Regions from separate parts of the Homo sapiens genome. Here all the other regions are linked to region 2. Evidence: promoter capture Hi-C in 16 types of primary human blood cells and fetal thymus (Javierre and others, 2016). All regions are on one chromosome and are shown on one strand. The core of a region is centred on a gene start or on the middle of the fragment in contact, and the rest is flanking DNA. Distances in the headings are between cores, read along the strand shown. Region 1 has its middle 38 kb from the start of LCORL. Region 2 holds the start of MED28 (mediator complex subunit 28). Region 3 overlaps LCORL (ligand dependent nuclear receptor corepressor like).

Evidence for each region. Contacts are between HindIII fragments. The CHiCAGO score rates a contact against its expected background, and 5 or more counts as called.
Region 1: a contact is called between a fragment that was not itself captured here and the fragment with the promoter of MED28 in region 2, in 1 of 17 cell types (total B cells). The highest score is 5.7, in total B cells.
Region 3: a contact is called between a fragment that was not itself captured here and the fragment with the promoter of MED28 in region 2, in 2 of 17 cell types (fetal thymus and neutrophils). The highest score is 5.4, in fetal thymus.

The regions. Positions count from the first base shown.
Region 1 is chr4:18,058,095-18,061,660 of GRCh38, reverse strand. No RefSeq gene overlaps it. Among named protein-coding and RNA genes, the nearest start is that of LCORL, 38 kb to the right of the region's middle. The HindIII fragment of the contact is 328 bases long and covers 1,678-2,005 here.
Region 2 is chr4:17,613,252-17,616,909 of GRCh38, reverse strand. It overlaps MED28 (mediator complex subunit 28), which reads right to left and starts at 2,269. Exons shown (of 4, transcript NM_025205.5): 1 at 2,097-2,269. The coding sequence starts at 2,255. MED28-DT (MED28 divergent transcript) reads left to right here and starts at 2,330. Exons shown (of 3, transcript NR_186331.1): 1 at 2,330-2,768; 2 at 2,872-2,978. RefSeq lists enhancers at 2,120-2,229, 2,330-2,619, 1,725-2,924. The HindIII fragment of the contact is 7,436 bases long and covers 2,179-3,658 here.
Region 3 is chr4:18,007,429-18,010,905 of GRCh38, reverse strand. The region is part of intron 1 of LCORL (ligand dependent nuclear receptor corepressor like); the gene reads left to right. Among named protein-coding and RNA genes, the nearest start is that of LCORL, 13 kb to the left of the region's middle. The HindIII fragment of the contact is 5,084 bases long and covers 1-3,477 here.

The sequences.
Region 1 (3,566 bases), core at 592-3,091, 450 kb before region 2:
TCTACTAAAAATACAAAAATTAGCTGGGTGTGGTGGCATCCACCTGTAATCCCACCTACTCAGGAGGCTGAAGCAGGAGAATTGCTTGAACCCAGGAGGTGAAGATTGCAAGGAGCCAAGATCACACCACTGCACTCCAGCCTGGATGACAGACTGAGACTCCATCTCAAAAAAAATGTCCTAGCTGCCTTTTTTTTTTTTTGCAGAAATTGATAAGCTGATTCTGAAATCTATATGAACATGTAAGGAACCTAGAAAAGTCAAATCAATCTTAAAAAAGAACTAAGTTGGAAATGTTCCTGATATCAAAACTTCAAACAAAACGACAGTAACCAAGACAGTGTAGTACTGATGTAAGGAAAGACATACAGATCAACGAAATAGAATTAAGAGTCCAGAAATAAACCCTTACATTTATGATCAACTGATTTTTGACAAGGGTGCCAAGACTATTGAATGGGAAAAGAATAGTCATTTCAACAAATGGTGCTGGGACAACTAGATATCCACACACAAAAGAATGAAGGTGTACCCTTCATGCCATTTATAAAACTTAATTCAAAATTAAGATGTATATAATTTTTCAAATGATGGACTGAATAGTGTAATAAATATGGCTGAAAATAAATATGTTAGTTGGAAATGTAAGTCAACTTACACTCCCAGAACACTGTATAAAAGGACAAAGAGGAATGTATTTTCAAAACTTCAGGAAATACTTCAACTGGATTCAGAAGTTTAGAACATATTTAATAGGATTTTTCAGAAATAATAACAAAGAATGGAGAAGAAACAACCAAAGAAATAAAAGAAGAAAATTTCCCCAAATTGATAAAAGATATGAACATTCCAGAGTCTAATGTACATATTATAAGGAGTATAAATACCTATTATAAATTTTCAGAATTTCAAGCAAAAGAAAATATCCTAAAAGCTTCCAAAGTAGGGAGGGGAGGGGCATTAATACCACAAAAGACTGAGATTTATAGTGGCATCAGAATTTGTATTAATTTTAAATGCCAAAGGTAAGGGAGCAATATCTTCAAAGTTCCAAAGGGAAATGTAAGCCTAACAAAACAAGCATTTATATTATTATAAAATGTTTGTATTTGAAAACTAACTGAATATTTACAGACTATCACAAACTTCTCAAGAGCGTAAAACAAAATAGGACTATACAATGGGGTTCATTTAAAAATTAAGGAACACTATTTCCATTTATTCAATATATATATGCATATATATTGAACTACTACCACATGACAGAAAATATTACAATCAGTAGTGACAGTAGTGACACAAAGGTGAACAAGATACAATCTCATTTTATTCATGATTCCATATTTTCAAATTAGCCTACTCCCTAAAATTAATTTGGAATCCCCAAGCACTTTCATTGTCATTTGTGGGAATGCACAGATCAGTGAAAATTTGAGTCACACATTTCCAGCTGAAGTTGAACAAGGTGAATCTCTGTCTTCTTTTTCAGCTGTCATACTATAAATGTGTCTTTTTAGTGGTCTATTTAGTGCCGATTTTTGTGCTTTTTTTTTTTTTTTTTGTAATCTCCTTGTTTAATATGGTCCCCAAGCATAGTACTGAAGTGTTGTCTAGTGTTTCTAAGTGCAAGGAGGTTGTGATGTGCCTCACAGAGAAGACAGGTATGTTAGCGAAGCTTCATTCAGACATGAGTTATAGTACTGTCAGCCACTGAGTTCAATGTTAATGAACTAGCAATGTATATTAAATGGGGTGTTTTTAAACAGAAATGAACATACAACAATGTTATGTATTGATCAACTGATGAAAATGTGACCAGAGGCTTTCAGGAACCTAATCCTGTATTTCCCGGGAGTAATAGTTTTGTATTTGCTAACTCGATGTTTACAGAACTTTACCATGAATAACAAGAATTGACTATTTTGTTTGTCCTCAAGTAGAGTACAAAGTTTTAAATAATATATAATTTTTCATAAATAAAAACCAAGTGAGCCATCTAAAAGCTTGAAAAGTGTAGTTCCAACTATATTCTTTAAACTTTACCAGCTGCTTTCCTTATTCTTTCAATATCTAAAATGTTCTAAATATAGTCTGTCAGTTCTAGCATCCTTAAATTCTTAAAAAGAGGGGAATCTGTATTTATGTTATTGTGTCAGCCATTTTTCTGGGTATTAAATCTCACTTTGTGTATTTTTTAAATTTAAAAATAATGAATTATTTTCCTGGGTGCTTTTGGAATCTTCTGTAGAAATCTCAGTGTGATGATTAATTTCAGGTATTAACTTGACTGAATTAAGAAATAGCTAGATAACTGGTATTATTTTAAGGAGTGTGTCTGTGAGGTTGCTTCTGGAGGAGATTGGCATGTGAATGTGAGTGGACTACGTGGAGAAGATCCACCCTCAATATAGGCAGACATGATCCAAATAACTGGGAGCCCTGACAGAATGAAAACAGAGGAAAGGCAAATTGATCCCTCTCTCTTCTTGAGCCAGGATACACTCTTCTTCTCCAGCCCTCGTACATCAGAAACCCAGGCTCTTCAGCCTTTGGACTTTAGGACTTATATCAGTGGCCCCCACAGGTTCTTAGACCTTCAAACTTGGACTGAGCCATGCTTCCAGCATCCAACTTGCAGAGGGCTGTCTTGGAACTTCTCAGCCTCCATAATCACATGAGCCAATTCCCCTAATAAATTTTCCCTAACATATTTATCTATAGATAGACATAAAGAGAGATGAGAGATAGAGACAGACAAATACATTAATAGATATATCCTATTGGTTTTGTCTGCTTGGAGAATGCTGACTAATACGCTCAGTATATCCTTCATTTCATGAGGGAGAAAAATCTCTGTTTTTTAATCTACAGAATAGTCAGCTTTGCATCTTTTAAAATAAATGTTCTTCTTTTATAAATTTTTATCTTTTTAAGGTCATTTTAATTTTTTTATAAATTTGCCAATTATTAACCAGTGAGAAATAGCAACACAGAAAAAAATTAATTAAATGGAACAAAAAGTACAGTACCAAGCAATGGTGAGATTCATGAAAAGCAACTGGGGAAAGATGTTAAATACTTTGAAAATATATATTCATATTAATTCTTATAAAAATATCTTTTTAAATTGAACTTCCTTTTTATTTCCCTTAAGAAATAGAATACATTCATTTTTATATAAAATAACCTTTTATTGTAATTGTTTCTCTCATTTGCATATTTGGCAAGACTTCCTTCTGTCAACCACTTATCTATAATGCTGAGACATTTGAAAGAGCTAAAACACAAGGGTTAATGGAAGTATCACTCTAACACATACTGAAAGGCATTTCTTATTCTTGCTGTCTTTGAACAAGAAAGCAACTAAATTTGCATACCATTTTGCTAATACAGGTAGTCAAAGCTCAACTGTGAGAGTGGAAGAGGAATTTTAAAAATTCTTTAACTGTTCTAAAATGTACCTTACTGAACCCTACTCCTGTTTTTTAGGGGCAGACTGACCAATATATACCAGATATAAATTAAAAATTAAAAAATATACAATTTTAATAGCATTTTCTTTCAGT
Region 2 (3,658 bases), core at 1,020-3,519:
GGCACCTACAGACATATATGTGAATCAGGCAAGGAGTTCTGTGCACAAGCCAACTACACTACAGGCTCCACACTACAGATTCCTTCAATGTCTGACAAATATTCATCTAGCACTTGCTATCTACTACCACTGTATTAGCACTACAGGTTACACAATGTGAGGGGTGGGGGTACAAAACAGGTAGTCTCTGACTTCATGGAGCCGAATTTAATGGTAAGTATTAAAAAGAAGGCCAGGGAAGGGTCCACTGAGGAAGTGATGCAGTGAGCTGAGGAGCGGCCTGGAAGCCCAAAGAGAAAACAAATGGTACACGTGGGAAAGTCTTGTGTGGCTGCAGTAAGGAAACGAGTCTGAAGGAGAGAACGCAACATGCAAAGCCTGGGAGACCACACTAAACATCTTGATCTTATCTCAAGGGCAACAAGCAGCCACTGTACGTTTTTAAGCAGCAGGGTGCTGGGAGTCAACTTTGGCTAAGACTTGTACAGGGCCAGTCTTTCAGCAAGTGCCCATGACTGAGAGCCAGCTCCCCTCAAGCACAATGCTAGATGCTGCTCTAAAGTTCACCAGCCCCTTCCTTTACCACTTAGCACCACCTCAAAGGTGTCTCCTCCTCCTCCTCCTAAACGGTCTGTCCTTTAAATCATTTATTTCTGGCTAGGCGCAGTGGCTCACGCCTGTAATCCCAGCACTTTGGGAGGCCGAGGCGGGTGGATCACGAGGTCAGGAGTTCGAGACCAGCCTGGCCAAGATAGTGAAGCCCTGTCTCTACTAAAAAATAAAAAAAATAGCATGGTGGCAGGTGCCTGTAATCCCAGCAACTCGGGAGGCTGAGGCAGGAAAATCGCTTGAACCCGGGAGGCGGAGGTTGCAGTAAGCCGAAATTGCGCCACTGTACTCCAGCCTGGGCGAGAGAGTGAGACTCCATCTCAAATCATTTATTTCTAAATCTTTGTACATCCGTGTGGTAAAAGCATTTTGTCCATGCAGTCTGAATAATCGCTTGCAAATTATATTCATTTACCACTGTGCTATTAGATACAATACAAAAGTCACAAAGTTGGGATTTTTATTTATTTATATTTTATTTTACTTTTTTGAGACGGAGTCGAGCTCTTGTCACCCACGCTGGAGTGCAATGGCGCGGTCTCCGCTCACTGCAACCTCCGCATCCCAGGTTCAAGCGATTCTCCTGCCTCAGCCTCTCGAGTACCTGGGATTACAGGCGCACGCCACCACGCCTGGCTAATTTTTGTATTTTTAGTAGAGTCAGGGTTTCACCATGTTGGTCAGGCTGGTCTCGAACTCCTGACCTCATGATCCGCCAGCCTCGGCCTCCCAAAGTGCTGGGATTACAGGCGTGAGCCACCGCGCCCGGCAAAACTGGGATTTAAAATGTGGAAAAGTTAACTCCAATTTGAACGTACATTACTTTATTACTACACAGGAATAGCTCATCTTCCACTTTAAAGACTACTGGAAATCACCAGAGCACTTATTTTCACCTCTCTATCTTCCCTCAATATACAGTTCACCTTTCTTGCTACAAGGTAAACTCCTTGGGCAAAACTGAGAGATTGGGTCACCTGTGCCTCCCTCCCTCCCTAACCTCCAGCATTCCTCCTTCCTCAGCTCTTAGTACCAAGCTGCGCCTGGTAACTTAAGTCAATTTCCGCTCTTAAGAGTCCCTTTAGGATCGTTTAAAGGTGAAGCCCAGCGGAAAGGATACAGGATACAGCAGTGAAACTCTCAGCTCCGAAAAGGCTTGAGCCTCTTACTAAACATGCAGGGATGCAAGAAACGGTGCTCGGGGATGAGACTAAGGACCGGCTGGGAATCTGGAAGGGTTCCAAGTTTGGGGTTTAGGCAAACTTCGGGTTCACGTTTCCACAAACGTCGAGTTTACGCGCCCCCGCCAGCAGACCTGAATTGAATACGGGCCACGGGGAAGCCTAAAGCAAGTGACTTACTTTAAGCCTCAGTTTCCCCATTTGTGAATTAGTTGCTCGGATCCCTGGAGGAGATACGCGTACGCGCAGTTCACGTTTCAGAAAAAAGGGAAGGCTAGGGACAAAGACGCCCATGTCTTATATTACCTCGAAAGATGACTCCAACTCGTCCACCAAAGTACTGCTGGAAGGTCTAGGAGCGCCTGGAGCTGCCTGAAGAAGCGAAGCTTGGCCCGGAAGGCCCGGCGGGGCCTGAGGGGGACCGGGTGGCTGCCCAGAAAACATACCCCCTAGTGGAGCCGCCATGTTTGGAATGGCGCAAGAGAGATCCACTGCGCCTGCGCGGAAGCCGGCTCAGAAGCTCACGTGGCTGGTGTAGTAGGCGTGGTCACGTGACAGGACCGAGCGATGGGAGGATTCTGGTGCACCCCGGAAGGAGGATTTTTAATTCTTCTGTTTTCTTGTCTATCGCAAAACAGAGTTTACATGTATTTTCCTTTTTTCTTAGCTTAAGAATTGAAGACTTTGGCCGGATTAGACCTGGTTGTGTGGAGAGGAGAATTAATAACTACAGTGGAGCGAGCCCTCCTGCGAGAGTCAGGATACTACTATGCTAGTCCCGACTCTGCCCCAAATGCCTGGAGAGACTTTGGCTAAGTCACTTTTTCTTTCCGCGGGCTGTTTACCGTTGGTAAAAGGAGAGGGTCACCCACTCACTCCACAAACATTTGTTGAGTCATTGGTTATAGCGGGAACAAGACAGGCAAAGTTCTTCCTGAATTCTGGTCGGAGATGGATAACGGAAACAACTTTGTTGAGGTTCCCAATGTGCCCGGCACTGATGTCTTTAAATATTTATGGTTACATCAAAGAGAAAGTCACTATGCTAATCTTTTTTTTTCTTTCTTTTCTTTTTTCTCAGGGTCTCGTTCTGTCGCCCTGGCCGGAGTGCAGTGTCATGATCAGGGCTCGACCTCCCGGGCTCAAACAATCCCCCTACTTCAGCCACCCAAGTAGCTAGGACCACAGGTGCGTGCAGTCGCGACGGGCTTTTTTTTTTTTTTTTTTTTTTTTTTTTAGTTGAGTCAGGTGTTTTACTGAGCTCAAGTGATTCTACCGCCGCGGCCTCCCAAAGTGTTGGGAATACAGTAATGAGCCAAGGCGCCAGGCTGCTAATTTTTTTTTTTTGAGACAGAGTCTCGCTTTGTCGCCCAGGCTGGAGTGCAGTGGCGCGATCTTGGCTCACTGCAAGCTCCGCCTCCCGGGTTCACGCCATTCTCCTGCCTCAGCATCCCGAGTAGCTGGGACTACAGGCGCCCGCCACCACGCCCAGCTAATTTTTTGTATATTTGGTAGAGATGGGGTTTCACCGTGTTAGCCAGGATGGTCTCGATCTCCTAACCTCGTGATCCGCCCGACTCGGCCTCCCAAAGTGCTGAGATTACAGGCGTGAGCCACCGCGCCCGGCACTAGGCTGCTAATCTTGTAGTAACCTGCTTTTAACATTTGCTTATCTCTCTCTTTTTTTTTGGTGACGGAGTCTCGCTCTGTCGCCCAGGCTGGAATGCAGTGGCGCGATCTCGGCTCACTGAAACCTCCGCCTCCTGGGTTCAAGCAATTCTCCTGCCTCAGCCTTCCGAGTAGCTGGGACTACAGGCGCCCGCCGCTCGGCTAGTTTTTCTGTATTTTAGTAGCGCCGGGGTTTCACC
Region 3 (3,477 bases), core at 181-2,680, 390 kb before region 2:
AAACCAGGAGCAAGGGAAAGGTATTGTAACAATCATGGCTGTTAATTTTTGCAGGGTTGTATCTGGGGGTAAGTATACTGGAAACAATACAACTGTTAATATTCTGAAAACAAGTCAAATTTACTTGTTCTGGATATTTTAAAAAATATGTTATGGCCGGGCCCGGTGGCTCACGTTTGTAATCCCAGCGCTTTGGGAAGCTGAGACAGGCAGATCATATGAGGTCAGGAGCTCAAGACCAGCCTGGCCAACATGTACAGAAACCCTGTCTGTACTAAAAATACAAAAATTAGCCAGGCGTGGTGGCAGGTGCCTGTAATCTCAGCTGCTCAGGAGGCTGAGGCAGGAGAATCGCTTGAACCCGGGAGGCGGAGGTTGCAGTGAGCCGAGATCATGCCACTGCACTCCAGCCTGGGCAACAGAGCAAGACTCCATCTCAAATATATATATATACACACATACATACATATATACATACATACATATATATATACACACACACACACAGACACACACACATATATATATGTACCCATACACACATTTATGTATATTTTAGTGTTTGGAACAACTGTATTTTTTAAACTCTCAAAATAAAATTAGTAGGGTTTTTTCTTCTTTTTAAATTAACTAGATTTTCCACAGGCCTATGTAAGATACTTAAGTAAAATGCATGTTTGGTTAGAAGGAAACCCAGTGCTCTCTTCTGTATTATAATTTTCAATTAACTTTTTAAACTTAGAAGGAATTAGTGTAAAAGAATAGAGCACTGTTTACATGGAAAAAAAGCAGGTACTCTGACAAATAGATTGTTGTTTTAATTAGCTCTGATTATAGGTGCTTACACAGTTTATTCACTGGTGTCTCTTTTTTTAAAATATAATTAATTGTTCTTCAATGTCTTCTTCCTCCTCCCTTTCTGAACAGCTCAGTACTAAAACATCAAGTGGGAGAAAACAAGGGTAGGTATCCACACTGGGTGGGGTGCGTGGGAGGCAGAGCCACATCGTCATGTAAGAGGAGTGGGATCTCAGAACCTTATAGGGTGAGGAGGGTGTCCATGGGGGTTGATGGAATGAAGGGTAAGGAGCACCTCTCCATTGGAAGGCATGCTAAGGCAGGGTATTGGAGCCCAAGCAGGGTGATATGGTATCTGTGAAGGAGAGTGGCCTGGTATGGGGGAAGGTCAGCTGGTCCCAGCAAGGAGGACATCTACTTGGGGTGGGATGTCATCCTGCATGAGCTCTCAGGGCCCCAGTAGATACCAGGGGGTAGGGAGTGACCCATGTAGGATTGCAGCCTGGTGTAGGTATATTAAGGCTCAAGTGAGATGAGGAGGGAGTCCATACATAGAGGTATCTGAGTCCAAGGTATTAGAGCCTGAGGGTAAAGGGAGGAAGGCCTCTCAGTGGAGCTCGGTACAATATGGGATTTCATAGCCTGAGCAGGGTAGGGAGGATATTCTTGTAGGAGGGATGCCAGGCATGAGGAATAGGGACCTGAACAGGGTAAGGAGATTATATACATGGGGTAGGGATTTTGGGGCCAAGAGAGGTGAGGAGGGTGTCCGTGTAGGGAAAGAGACAGCTACAGTGGGAGATTGGTTACGTACATGAAGATTGATCAGTATTAAGAATAATGGGAGCCAGGCTTCTCATTGTCTGAGAAGGGATTTACTAATATGAAAGTAGGGAAAATTAGAATGCTGTCTGTAGTGTTGGATAGGAAATGAAGTACTTGTGCGAACTCATGGTTTTCATCATATATAGATATAGAAATGTATGTGTATGTATACATACACATGCCCTATACTGGTCATTGAGAAGGGGCTTAGGAGCAGTGGCAGTACGGTAGCAGTGAGCATAGTGTATTACCGTTAATTTCCTGATTTTAATGGTTGTTTTTGTGAGAGAATTGGGAAATACTAGGAATTCAAGAGTGGTGGGTCATTATGTAGACATTTACTCTCAAATGGTTGGGAAGATAAAGGTCTTCCTTACTATACTTAAAACTTTTAAGTTAAAGATTGTTAAAACATAAAAGTATTTAAAAACAGTGTCATTAGTCTACGTATGTTCTTGTGAATTAATCACTTTCAGCCCTAACTACCATAGTTAGTAATATACATGTTGTCTTACAGATTTTCCAGCACCAAGAATTGCCCCTTGAAATAATGATAGATAATATTTATTGAGTGCTTACCGTGTGTTAGGCAGATTCTAAGTTTTTATATGTATTATCACATATAATTTTCCATATGAAATAGTACAATTTTTATCTTCATTTTACAAATGAGAAAATTCAGGCTTAGAGAGGCTAAGTGACTTGCCCAAGTCTTTCTGCCTAGCAAATTCAAAAGTAGAATTCACATCCAGTCTTAACCACTATACCAGGTCAAACCTCATTTAAAAATTAGCAAGTCTCATCCTTTCTGGTCAGATTGTTACATCTAAAACTTTAGTAGTGCTGTTTTCATTTTATTTTAGAACTTGAGTTTCAGGGGTGGGAAAAAGTATTCTGGGTTTAGGCCTCCTCAGCCTTTTATTCCTGTCCTGGAGTGAGAGAGAACCGGGACTTCTGTATTTGAATGCACAGTGTCAGAGATAAGGATTCCCCTGTGATGGATTAATCAGAGAAAATATCCACTAATTTTTTTCTTGCTTTTACAACTGATGATGAGAACATGGAGTTAGTGGGCAAGGCTTTTCCATGGCACAGACTTGCAGTGTTAAGTTTTAGTCTGGATATAAAGTTACCTTCTATCCTAATTCTAAGAATGATGAGCAATACCTTTCCATCTCTTTTGAACTTTCCTCAAGAATGGCAGATGAATTAATAGGATATAGCTAATTGTTTCATTTTAACCTTCCTTTCCTTGTACTTATCTGTGCCAATTTAGGGTATGGAAAAGTAGTTTCTTGGTAAAATCCTGTATTTTTTTTACATACTACTCTTTTGGGATCAGCCCAATAATTACTTTTTTCTTCTTTGCTTTCTTAACCTTTTAGTATTTGTGTTCTGGCATAGCACATAAATAGAATAGAATTTGCCTATGAGTACATATTAGCTTGCTTGTCTAACTTTTCACTCTTAACAGTCTGAGCCCACAGATCCTTTCATCCTCTGTCAGAGTGAGTTTCTGCTGACCTACTCATTCCTCAGACCCATTCTAAAATTGCTGCCTTTATTTTATATAAAGAATAATAGTATTTTCAGTGTTGAAAGAAGCATGGCCATCTGCTAAAATCCTTTTGCTTATATTTTCTTCCTCATAATTTTTTTCAGTAATTATTTATGGACAGGGCATTGTACTAGGAGACTCAGGTGTATTAGATTGTCTTCATGAAGCACAATCTCCTGGGGAAAACAAGGCTCTCTGACTACAGAATACGATAAATGCGATAATAGAAGCATATACAGTATTAAATTTGTAGCATAAAGGAGGGGAATGGTGAGGTTTCCTTATATGAGTCCATG